Regions from separate parts of the Homo sapiens genome. Here region 1 is linked to region 2. Evidence: promoter capture Hi-C in 16 types of primary human blood cells and fetal thymus (Javierre and others, 2016). All regions are on one chromosome and are shown on one strand. The core of a region is centred on a gene start or on the middle of the fragment in contact, and the rest is flanking DNA. Distances in the headings are between cores, read along the strand shown. Region 1 overlaps HDAC7 (histone deacetylase 7). Region 2 holds the start of RPAP3 (RNA polymerase II associated protein 3).

Region 1 (5,603 bases), core at 2,363-4,862, 110 kb after region 2:
AAAGTCAGGACTTACTTAATGAATGCCTTCTGGCTGAATAATGATCATTTCCTGAAAGAAATGCCTCATGCCTCTTCCAGAGCCGCTGTGCTGGGAATACTCACTGCTGACATCACTGACCTGCCCACCCCTCCTCTGTTCTTCATAAGAGCAACAAGGGAAGGGCTAAAATAAAGTTCACCCCAGCAGATGCTGGCAAGGTACTCCACATCAGGGCCATCAGGGGCAGCCCCATCCCAGACCCTCCCCAAGCTGGCACAGCAGCCCCTCTCCAGGGCCAGCTGGCTTCAAGGCCCTGGGGTCCCTCCTCGCCCTGCCTCACTGGGAGAGGCTGGGAGAGGGAGTGAACAAGAGAAGCAGGGGTCCACCCTATGACTTCTGGCTACAGCTCTCTGGCTGTTCCAGGCCGCGATGGGTGGAGGAATCTGGAACAGGGATTTGGCCTGGTTTTTTCTGTGAACTGGGGCTAGGCCCAGTTTCTGTTCTTCGTGTCTGCAACATTCCCTATCCCTGACCTTCAAAAAATATGAACAATAACATTAATAATGATGATGAATATTCAGTGAGCCCTGACTTCATACCAGGCACAGAGCTAACTTTATTTACATTATCTCCTTTAATCTTCATAGCAACTCCATAAAGTTGAAACTGTAATTATTTTCACATTACAGATGAAGAAGTGGAGGCACAGAGCAAAATGTGCCCATAATCACACTTGCAGGAGAAACCGAGACTCAGCCAAGGCCATCCCATTCCTCCCTCTGCGTCCTTACAGGAAGCTCTCCTGCCAGGCTTTGCCATATATACAGTAGGGTCTAAGGCGATAATTAACATCTGTAGAGTGCTTTAAGCACTAAGTGGGGCACAGAGAAAAGCCCCACTTGAAACTAGGAAATCGAGTCTCAGAGCCATCAGCATCCTTACTCAAGATCCCACACCTTTCGACTAAGATTCAAACCCAGATCTCTGGCGTCAGAATGGCACATTTCTTCCCTATTATCACACGATGCCCCTGGCTCACTCTCAAGGCGGCCCCGGCTGCCTGGAAGGGAGAGTCACACCTCCTTCAGCGCTGGAATCTGGGGGGCGAGGCCTGCGCTCAGCCCCTCGCCCGGTGGGGGTGGGGTGCTGCGCCAGCACCTCCTCAGCGTCTCCGCCGTGACTCACTCCCGGGACCCAGGGGAAGCACAGCCCTGCGCTGCGGGCAAACATCGTCCGCCGCCCGCCCCGCCTCCAGCTCCCCGCCTCCACATTTGCTAACCGAAACAAGGCTGCTGCTATTTTTAACCCTCCAGCTCCCCCTTGCCTGGGGCTCCCCCCTTCACCTCCCCACCCCCCGCCCCAGCCGGGTGCCACCAGCCTGTCATTCTGAGAGCAGTTCTATAACCTGAACGCGCCTGGGAGGGCGCAGCGGACGTCCCGGACGTGCAGGTTTGTGGGGCAAGCAAAACAAGACGGTTACAGCCCAATCGCCGAATTCCCCCACCCCAGACTCTTTCCGAACCTGTCACTCCCAGACTGCCCTGCTCCTCCTGCCATTCTGGGGGTTGGGGTAGAGGGGAATGGGACTTCTGGGCTGGGGTCACCTCAGGAGCCAGAGCTAGGCTCCTTGGAATGGGTCCTGCAGGGAGGAAGCTGAACTGAAGGGGATTGGAGTTCCCCTACGGATCCCCAGGGTGAGAGGCTGACCCTATAGGCCCAAAGCTTCTGACCACCAGGGTTTACAATCCCTGCAGGCAAGATGGAGGAAAAAGGAAGTGGTGCGGAGACAGGGTGGGGATGGTGAGCTTAGCCCAGGGCCTTCCTGACGAGGAGAAGTCCCCTCCCCATCCTGCTGTGGGGGCTGTGGAGCTTGGGCGGGAAGGCCTGGGAGTCGGGAAGAGCACTGAGCAGCCTCCAGAGAGGCCCAGGGTGGAAGGCAGCCTTGGCAGTGTGCAGGGGGAAAAGCGGACCTGGAGTCAGGGCTCCTTTGACACTCAATAATCTAAGGCAAGGGCCAGGCAACACCTTCCTGCAGCCTGAAGCTCTGGGTCCCCAGAAAAACCTTCCTGGGAGAAGAGGTTGGAGGTGAGAGGGGCTGAGGCCTGCTGGCCTAGAGCCGGAACCTGACACCCAAGTTGCTGATGTGAAAGTTAACCTCCTGAGAGGGGTGAAGCGTAGAGCTGCAGGTGGACCAGACAGGGGCATTTCCTCCCAGCTGATGTAGAGCCCGTGTCTTGAATCAGCCCCATCTGGCCCTCTGGTCTCAGAGTCTCCCCCAGTTTGGGCAGCAGATTCCAAGGGCCCAGGAGAGACTCTGGAGAGCCCAGCCAAAGGGCCATCTGGGCTCAGGTTTTTCCCGTGTGCCTCTCCTGTCCCAGCCTCCATCCTCCCTTGAGCCCTGTCCTCTCTGGTCCCAACCCCAGCCTTCCTTTCTGGTTCTGTCCTCTCTTCCAGGGCCCAGGTCCCCTCTAGGCCTTGACCCCCTCTCTTTGGTGATTCCTGAGCCAAGTAAAGTAAAGTGGCCACAGAGGCAGCAGGCTAGACCAGAGGGAAGGGACTTGGCACAGTAGTTCCCCAACTGGGGAGATGGCGGAGAAGGGAAGGAGGTGGGAGGAAGGTGAAACAGGAGAGCTCCTGGGGAGATGCTGCCTCCTTCTCAACATTCAGTATGGCCACAGGGCCCTGGACTCAGCCCCATGGAAGAAAAAGGGTGCTCCCCAAGCAAGGGAGTGGCTTTGATCTTGGCCTTGTGCAGCTCCCCCTTCTGCTCTCCCCTCTGCCAACCTTTGGGGCTGCTTAAGGGGAGGAGACTGCCATCTTCCATGCCAAGTGAGAGGCTGGCAATTCAGCTCCAACCCTTAGCCATTGGTCAGCCCAGGGCCTCCACCTGCATCCAGGGAGTTCACAAGCACGGCTCCAGAGGCTCTGATGGCTCACTTCCAACCTGGGGAGGTGGGAGACGGCATCAATGTCACCTTCTTAGGCAGTCCTCCCCTGGCCACCCTATCAAAGGAAGTCCCACCTTGTTATTCTTTATTGCCATGCCCAGTTCATTTCCTTCTTAGGGCTTATCACAGTGTGTAACTAGTCACACATACTCATTCCTTTACTTGCCTACTTGTTCTGTTTGTCTTCTCCACGAGAGTGGAAGTTCCCTGAGGTCAGATGTTGTGCCTGTGTGTTCACTGCATATCTGTACCCAGTGCCTAGAACATTGCAAGGCTCAGCTAGGATCCAGTGAATGGATGAATTGCTGAGTGACTGGCTCAGCAACATGGTTCCCTGGTTGCCAACATTGACCTTTAGGGATGACACTCAACAGTTCCAGGATTTCTCCAAAAAGGAGGCAGCAGAATGTAGCAAGAAGAACAAGGTCAGAAAACAAGAAAGCCAGGACCCCAGAGGAAAGATCAGCCCCAATTAGCACCAGCCCAATCGGGTCCACGTCATCACAAAGTGTAGTTATGAGCACACATGCACACACACACACAGGGGGTACATGGGTGAGCACAAAGTCCTGGACAGGTCTTAGAAGCCTTGAGTTTTCTCTTGGTTCTTCCTCTTAATGGCCCTGTCACCTTAGAGAAACTACATACCTTCTGTGGGTCTATTTCCTCAAAAGAAAAAATGAAGAGGTTGACCCAGGGCAGTGGTCCTCAAACACAGCCTTGCCCCAGGATCACCTGAAGCACCTGTTAAAATCTGGATTCCCAGGCCCCACCCCTCAGATTCTGACTAGTCAATCTGGAATGGGCCTGATGATCTGAATGTTTTTAATTTTGAGACAGTCTCACTCTATTGCCCAGGCTGGAGTGAGGTGGCGCAATCTCGGCTCACTGCAACCTCCACCTCCTGGGCTCAAGCAATTCTTCTGCCTCAGCCTCCCAAATAGCTGGGACTACAGGCCTGCGCCACCATGCCTGGCTAAATTTGTATTTTTAGTAGAGATGGGGTTTTGCCCTGTTAGCCAGGCTCGTCTCGAACTCCTGCCTTCAAGTGATCTGCCTGTTTCAGCCTCCCAAAGCCACCGCGTCCAGCCAGGATTTTTTTTTTTTTTTTTTTTTACAGAGTCTTGCTGTCACCCAGGCTGGAGTGCAATGGCGTGATCTTGGCTCACCGCAACCTCTGCCTCCCGGGTTTAAGCAATTCTCCTGCCTCAGCCTCCCGAGTAGCTGGGATTACAGGCGCGCACGCCACACCTGGCTAATTTTTTGTATTTTTAGTAGAGACAGGGTTTCGCCGCATTGGCCAGGCTGGTCTTGAACTCCTGACCTCAGGTGATCCACCTGCCTCGGCCTCCCAAAGTGCTGGGATTACAGGCGTAAGTCACCGCGCCCGGCCCAGGATCTTTATCTTTAACACATTCCCCAGGTGACTCTGAAGCAAATGGTCCAGGAACCCGCATTTGAGAATCCCAAATGAGATGGTGTTTTACAAGCCAGCATCTGGACTTCTATTAAAAAGCCACTCCTGCCCAGATATATACCCCCAAAAAACATGTCCATACATATGGACATGTTTACCCCACACAGGGCCATAACCTGAAAAGGTGTGCACCATACAGATGATGCACATCTGTCTTTTATGTGTGCATATTCCCAAAACACCCAACACAGAACCACCACATAGATCACAAATTGCCCGGAACCACCACATCAGCATACACAGGGTCTGGGGGGAGGGGTACACACACAGATACCCACCACGCACCCAGTGTGTGCTCACACACATCTCATGCAGACCCACACTAAACAGACGCTGTCCTGAATTTATTTTGCCTCTGGGAACTGGTCCAGGACCAAAGGAGCTATGCTCTGCTGATGAAAACATCCCTCCCACCTCTGCCACCCCCACCCCTGCCCCTTGCCCCAGGCAGCATGCTACCCACCTCTCCCTTGTAGGAGGAGGGAGACTGGAGGAGGGCAGTGGGGATGGGTTGGGAGGAAACAAGAGGCTAGGCCAGCGACTCAAGTTGCTCAGGGCCCTTCCGGGCGTCCAGCTCCCCTCTTTCCCTCTCCCTTCCCCCCAGAAGACGCCAAAGGGCCTTCCCCCAGCCCGCGAGTCCATGCTCACTCAGGCCACTCGCCTAGATTCCCAGGCCCCTGATCCTAGGGAGCCAAAAGGGTTAGGGAGGTGGCTAGATCTGGGGACTCCTCCTAATACTCAGGCCTCTAAGGAAAGGGCTGTCTGGGGGCACCTTCCTGTAGCCCTAAGGCCTGGGGCCTCCAGGGAAGGTTACCACAGAAACAGGGGGAAAATATTACAAGGAAACACAATACCCGGCAGGGTCACCTGCTGACCGGGCTTCCTGCTGTGTTGCCCACCCCCAGCTCACTGCTCTCACAGCCTCCTTCTCCAGCCTTGGCCTGGGCCTCCTCACCAAGGCTCTCCTTCCTGCCTCCCCAGAGCTGGGAGAAGCAGTCTTAAGCAGAAACTCTGCCCCTCCGTGGTTCCAAACAACAACATCGAGGATGGCCCAGAGCTGAGCCCCCCACTCCTAATCCTTACCAACCCCTCCTCACCATCACCACAGGAAATCAAAGCTTCCTGCCCCAAAGGAAGTGCCCCATCTAGTGAACAAATCCAACACACACAAATGCACAGTCCTGGGAGCCTCCGGG
Region 2 (6,039 bases), core at 3,336-5,835:
AATGACTAGATTAACTTACCACATCAAGTTTTGCCCATGCCTCATAATCATAAGATTTTATCCTGTTTTTTGTGTTTTCCTCTCTGGTTTTTTTGGAAGACTCTTTAGCTTTGCCTTTCTTCTTTTTCCTAAAATTCCCATTTCGAATAGGAGGTAAATTCTAAGGAGGGAAAAAAAAACACAAAGTTGTGAGTATTATGCTCTGTTACTCTTTGTATAACTAGCTATGTTTAAAATTCTCACTATATTTTCTTCTAAGAATTTTTTAATTTTAAAGTGTTTAAAAAGACCAATTTACCACCTTCACTTATAACAATTATACTTTAAAAGTTTAATTCATACTTTGATGAGTGTTGAACATTGTTCAATCACAAGAAAAAAGTATTACCTAGAAATTCTAATTATACCTTTAATTTGCAATCCTAAATTCAAACTTCAAAAACGACCTATCTTCAGCCTTAGTACGATGAACCAGCAGTAGTGCAAAGACAAACTGAACTGCCTCCATATTATGTACAGTATGAAAAACCCAGCCATATTTAAATGCAGTCTTAAGAAAAACTTTTGGTTGAACCTAGGTACTATCTGCATTTTTATGCCAATATGGTATGTTAATATATCATTAGTATATAACTACACATATTATTTTTATACACACACACCTCTACATATTTTATGATGCTAGTCATTTATTTACCTCTAAGTATTATCACATGATCATCCCTTCAGTAACTACTCACTAAGCCTTAAAATATGGTAATATATTTAATTATTACAAAGACTTTTTGAAAAGCAGAATTTCTAAAAACACTGACAGTGGGCCGGGCACGGTGGCTCATGCCTGTAATCCCAGCACTTCGGGAGGCCGAGGTGGGTGGATCACTTGAGGTCAACAGATCAAGACCATCCTGGCCAACATGATGAGACCCCGTCTCTACTAAAAAAAAAAAAATACAAAAAGTAGCTGGGCGTGGTGGTGCACGCCTGTAGTCCCAGTTACTCAGGAGGCTAAGGCAGGAGAACTGCTTGAACCCAGGAGGCGGAGGTTGCAGTGAGCCGAGATCGCGCCACTGCACTCCAGCCTGGTGACAGAGCAAGACTCCATCACAAAAAAAAAGAAAAGAAAATTGACAGTGAAGCAAGTCACTTCAATTTCAGTATTTTCACAAAACATTTTTAAAAGTTATGCTTTATTTTTATAAAATTAGTTTTGGTGGATCTTAATTACGAATTCTTAATTTACCTCTTCAGGAACACCATTCTGTCTTCTTAGTTCCATATCCTTTTGTTTAATGTCTTTTTCCCAGTTTTCTAAATCCCGCATAAAGTCTTGTAATTCTTCTGCATTTTGTTTCACTTGTAGTTGTAATTCGATTGCTTTATTTGCTGAAGTCATTATGGTCTGCAGAGTTTTGAACAACCAACCTCTGATAAGAATAGGCCTATTTGGTTTATTTTTCTGAAAGCTAGCTAATTATCTTTTACCACTTCATAAGTGGCCAAGATACATGGACAGAAGACAGCCAACTGATGCTGAATAAAGAAAAATCAATATAATATTTTAAAAATAAATCAGTTGCTGAATAAACAAATGAAAAATAGACAAGTTGAAGCATCCTTGAAAGGCAACATTAAAGAAAGGTAATGGGGAGAAAAATCACTGAAATTATCAGGTAGCCTGTGGTAGCAGACAGGCTGCTCATCTCTGGAGTTGAGCGATTACCTCCTTTATTTCTTTTTCTTCCAACATTTAACTTCTACTATGTGAAAGGCCCTGAATCAAGATTTAGGGATGCAAAAACAAGACAAGGTCCCTTGTGCAGTGGAGAAGAAAAAAATATATAAAGCACTAGTAACAAAATATGTTAAGCAGGGTTTCTCAACCTTGGGACTACTGACATTTTGGGCCAAAAAATTTATTTTAAGAGTGCTGTCCTGTGCATTGTAGGAGGGTTGGCAACATTTCTGTCCTCTACCAACTAGGTGCCAGGATTATCCCTTCCTCTCATGGATTGTGACAACGAAGAATCCCAGACACTGCCAAATGTTCCCTGAGAGGTAAAATAACCCCTGGTTGAGAACCCTGCGTCAGAGGTACATACAGATGCTATGGAACTGACTGCAAAAAATAGGCATGGATCAGATAGTAGGGTGGTGGTGTCACGGAAGGAGTCCCCAGAGGTGTTGGAACTTTAGCTGGATTTCAAAGGGGCCCGCCAAGTGACTAACAGGGAGGAGTGGGCAGGCAGAGTGAGGAATTATGAGGGAGAATGAAGGAAAAGAAAATTAAAGAGGTGGACATGGGACAGACTTGAAATGGCAGGCCATGAGGTCTAACCTATATTCTGAAAGTTATGTGAAAATATCAAGGTAGTAAAATAAAAAGAACTTGATGACTGACTAGACTGAGGTGTTGGAGAACAGAGAAAGACTCAAACAGTGGCCTAGATTTCTGGCTTGGGACCCCGGTAAGATTACTGATGCCATTTTGAGTCAAGAAATACAATGTTAAAAGGAAAAGAGGCATCAAAGTTGGAGGGCAAACGGAAAGTCAGATTATTTGTTTGGGATATGCTGAATTTGAGTGCTAATGGGGCGAAGAGATACCCCATAGGTAGCTATGTAGGAATAGAGATAAATTCCGGTGTCACTAGCAGAAAGGTAGAAGCTAGAATCAAGGATGTGGCCATGTTTAACCATTGTGACAACTGGGGAATGGGGTGAACCTGGAGAACACTAAACGGAGAAAGAGATGCCAAGGAAGAAAAAAGTAGGCAGTAGCACCTAGACAGTTGGGAGAAAAACCTAGAGTGTACTGTTACAGATGACAAAAAATGAGTTGAAGAAAGTGAGAGGTTAGCAGTGCCAAATGCCACAGAGGGAAAGAAAGTGCATTATATTTAGTCATAAAAAGACTATTCAGAGTTTTTGTTTTTTTTCTTGAGACAGAGTCTTGCTCTGTCGCCCAGGCTGGAGTGCAGTGGCGCAAACTCAGCTCACTGCAACCTCCACCTCCTAGGTTCAAGTGATTCTCCTGCCTCAGCCTCCCGAGCAGCTGGGATTACAGGTGCAGGCCACCACGCCCGGCTAATTTTTGTATTTTTTTTTTTTTTAGTAGAGACGGGGTTTCACCACGTTGGCCAGGCTGGTCTCGAACTCCTGACCTCAAGTGATCCGCCCACCTCGGCCTCCCAAAGTGCTGGGATTATAGGCATGAGCCACCGCGCCTGACCTCTATTTAGAGTTTCAATAAGATTTTTTTTAAAGGGTGGAAGGCCAACCGCAGGTGGCTCATGCCTGTAATCCCGGCACTTTGGGAGGCAGAGGTTGGGGGGCAGGGGGAATAGCTTGGGCTCAGGAGTTCCTAGATCAGCCTGGGCAACACTTCGAGATCCCCATCTCTACTAAAAACACAAAAATTAGCCAGGCGTGGTGGAGGGTGCCTATAGTTCCAGCTACTCAGGAGGCTGAGGTGGGAGGATCGGGAGATCGAGGCCACAGTGGGCGGTGACGGGCCCACTACACTCCAGCCTGGGACCAAAAAAAAAGGAGGGGGGGGAATGAAATGAGTTACGTAAATGAGATTATATGGAGATTACAGTACATTTGCCTTTGATAATATAAGACTTGTTCTTGAGCATAGTCTGGGGAAAAAGCAACAAAGTAAAAGATACAGGAAAAAGGATGAGTGATGGGGCAAAATCTCCAAAAAGGTAGGAGAAGAGTCAAAGCTTTAGGCGGAGGGAAGAGAAGTAAGGTGGGAGGGAGAGAGACGGAATTAGAAAAACATTTGTTTAGGACAGTGAAAAATACCTCACTAAGAAGGGACAGTTGCAGATGCAGATAGGTCTTCTGACTCGTAGCCTCAACAACTAAATTAGGTTTAAGCTTCTTTCAGGCAGTGTCCATGTTTGACCATATATGCACAACTCATTCAAAAACAAAACTAGTACAACGCTTTGTTGGGAACTCAAATAAATGAATAAAAGCGCAACAAGTCAGTGAGATGCTGACGGGGGTTAGATGCTTTTCCATTTCACCCATCACCGCTGCTGCTCGAGCAGGCCCAAAAACTCTCCCAGGGACCCTGCGATGGGGCGGGGGTGCGAGCCAGCAATCAAAAACTTCCAGCGCTGGGGGTATCACTTTCACACCCGCTGTCCCGGCGAACACCGCACACCCACGCCGCAAGGGGGCGGGCCCCACCTCGGTCTTTGCGGGAGGGCGGCTCTGCCTTCCCGAGCACTGCAAAATCGCAGCAGGGTGGAGGGTCCGCCTGCAAAGCAGAGCGCGCAGGCCCGGGTTGCGGGGGCGAGCCCCTCCGGGAACGCGCGACCCGAGACGCCGCTGCCCTGGACACCGACGCGCCGCCTCAACGCGCGCCTCCACCGCCAGCCCCGGCCCGCCCCGCCTCACCGGTACCCATAACCGCTACCCCTCCTCCCACCGGCCACCCCAAGGATCTCCTACGCTGCTCCGGGCAGCGAGAACCGCAACGCCCGCTCACCTGACCAGGCCGTAACCCGCCGCACTGCCACCCCGTCAGCCCCGCAGCGACTCACGCCGAGCCCGGCAGTGACTCACGCAAAGCCCCGCCTCCTGCGCTTCCCCACAAGCCCCCGCGGCCTCGCCCCGCCCCCTTTAGCCTGGGCTTGAGCGCGCGCAGAAGTCAGCTTCGTGACTTCCTTCTCAGGATGGAACCAGCTTGGTGGCTTGAGGGTATGTAAAAGCAATATCTGAGCCTTCTGCCTGCTTCCAATATGACTAAGCTTAAAAGGAGATAACCCAAAAACTGCAGGATCATCCTGATTTTCTGATCTCCAAAACAATAAAACCTTGAATATTTCCCTGGACTCCCTTAAACAGTTTAATCCCTAATATTTACCTTGCTAATCTCTGACCTTTGTGACATTAATTTGTCTGACCTTTGTGAGTATAATAACCATGTGAGAAAGTTACTGTTTTTCCACCATGAACAGACTACTGTCAACCGGTAATCCTGGTAATTTTAGGGGATTTTTTTTTCCCTTTAAGTACTGGTTGGCAAACTAGTCCTTCCGTCTAACTCCTCGCATCTTTTGCAAGTAAACCCCTTTTCTAAGTGAATCTATCTCTGAGTCTTTCTTTGACATGTGCCAGTGTTACAATCTGTCTTTAGATATGCTCTGGCTTACAGAGAAAAAAGAACGAAACTTTTAACACTTTTTGCTTCTGCTTCCCGTGTGAGGGAGTCTTCGTTGCAATGACAACTCTTAAACGAAAGCAAAACAAAAATAATTGCAGAAGTCCACAGAAGCAAACACAAACAAATGAAACTTTCCATTTAAAACAGGACTGTAACCTCAAATATCCTCAAAATCCAGATCGGTGGTTCTCAGTCTTGACTGAGCTTTGGAATCACTTAGGGAGTATATACATATACACGTGTGTGTGTGTGTGTGTTTGTGTCTGTGTGTGTGTGTGTGTGTGTGTGTGTGTGTGTGTGTGTGTGTATACTGATTTCTGTGTCCTATCCCAGAGATTCTGATGTAACTAGTCTTGAGTGAAGCCAATCAGAATTTTTTAAAGCATAGGATACGGCTGTGCATTTGAAGCTGGAAGCCACTAACCCAGGCGCTGATCAATGAAGAACTAGGCTGGAGTGCTGTCTTACAAGGTCATATCATTAGCACATCCTTCCCATTGCTTAATTATTGGTATCTTTATATTTTAAAATCATAGTAGTCAAATCATTAAGTGTACGTCAAAATATTTACTAATGAAATGATTCTTTGGTTGTATTAGGGAGATAGAGAACTGACTTTTAATAATTTTTTTATTAAGTATTTAAAAGCAAATATTGATTTACTGGTGTTTTTAACAAAAGCAACCACATTTGTTTTATTAATTCTGACAGAGTTGATTGAGAAGAGAGATAAGGGGGCTAGCTGGCTGCTCTAGTAAAACCTCATAGACCCTTAGGTGACCCTGCTTTTCTCTCTCTTTTTCTCTCTCAAACCATACAATAATCAGAAGTAGCTTAGTGAATATAGAGTCAAA

The links. The method cuts DNA at HindIII sites, captures the fragments that hold promoters and counts their contacts. A CHiCAGO score of 5 or more calls a contact.
Region 1: a contact is called between a fragment that was not itself captured here and the fragment with the promoter of RPAP3 in region 2, in 1 of 17 cell types (monocytes). The highest score is 7.0, in monocytes.

Annotation. Positions count from the first base shown.
Region 1 is chr12:47,811,869-47,817,471 of GRCh38, forward strand. All of the region lies in intron 1 of HDAC7 (histone deacetylase 7), which reads right to left. Among named protein-coding and RNA genes, the nearest start is that of HDAC7, 5.2 kb to the right of the region's middle. RefSeq lists a silencer at 1,154-1,343 and enhancers at 1,924-1,973, 1,984-2,063, 5,230-5,339, 5,586-5,603. The HindIII fragment of the contact is 3,821 bases long and covers 1,703-5,523 here.
Region 2 is chr12:47,701,445-47,707,483 of GRCh38, forward strand. RPAP3 (RNA polymerase II associated protein 3) reads right to left here and starts at 4,586. Exons shown (of 17, transcript NM_024604.3): 1 at 4,508-4,586; 2 at 1,244-1,402; 3 at 20-160. The coding sequence starts at 1,396. RPAP3-DT (RPAP3 divergent transcript) reads left to right here and starts at 4,644. Exons shown (of 4, transcript NR_183480.1): 1 at 4,644-4,719. RefSeq lists enhancers at 3,800-4,301, 4,302-4,801, 4,522-4,816, 4,748-4,897 and silencers at 4,048-4,137, 4,168-4,457, 4,528-4,607. The HindIII fragment of the contact is 881 bases long and covers 3,887-4,767 here.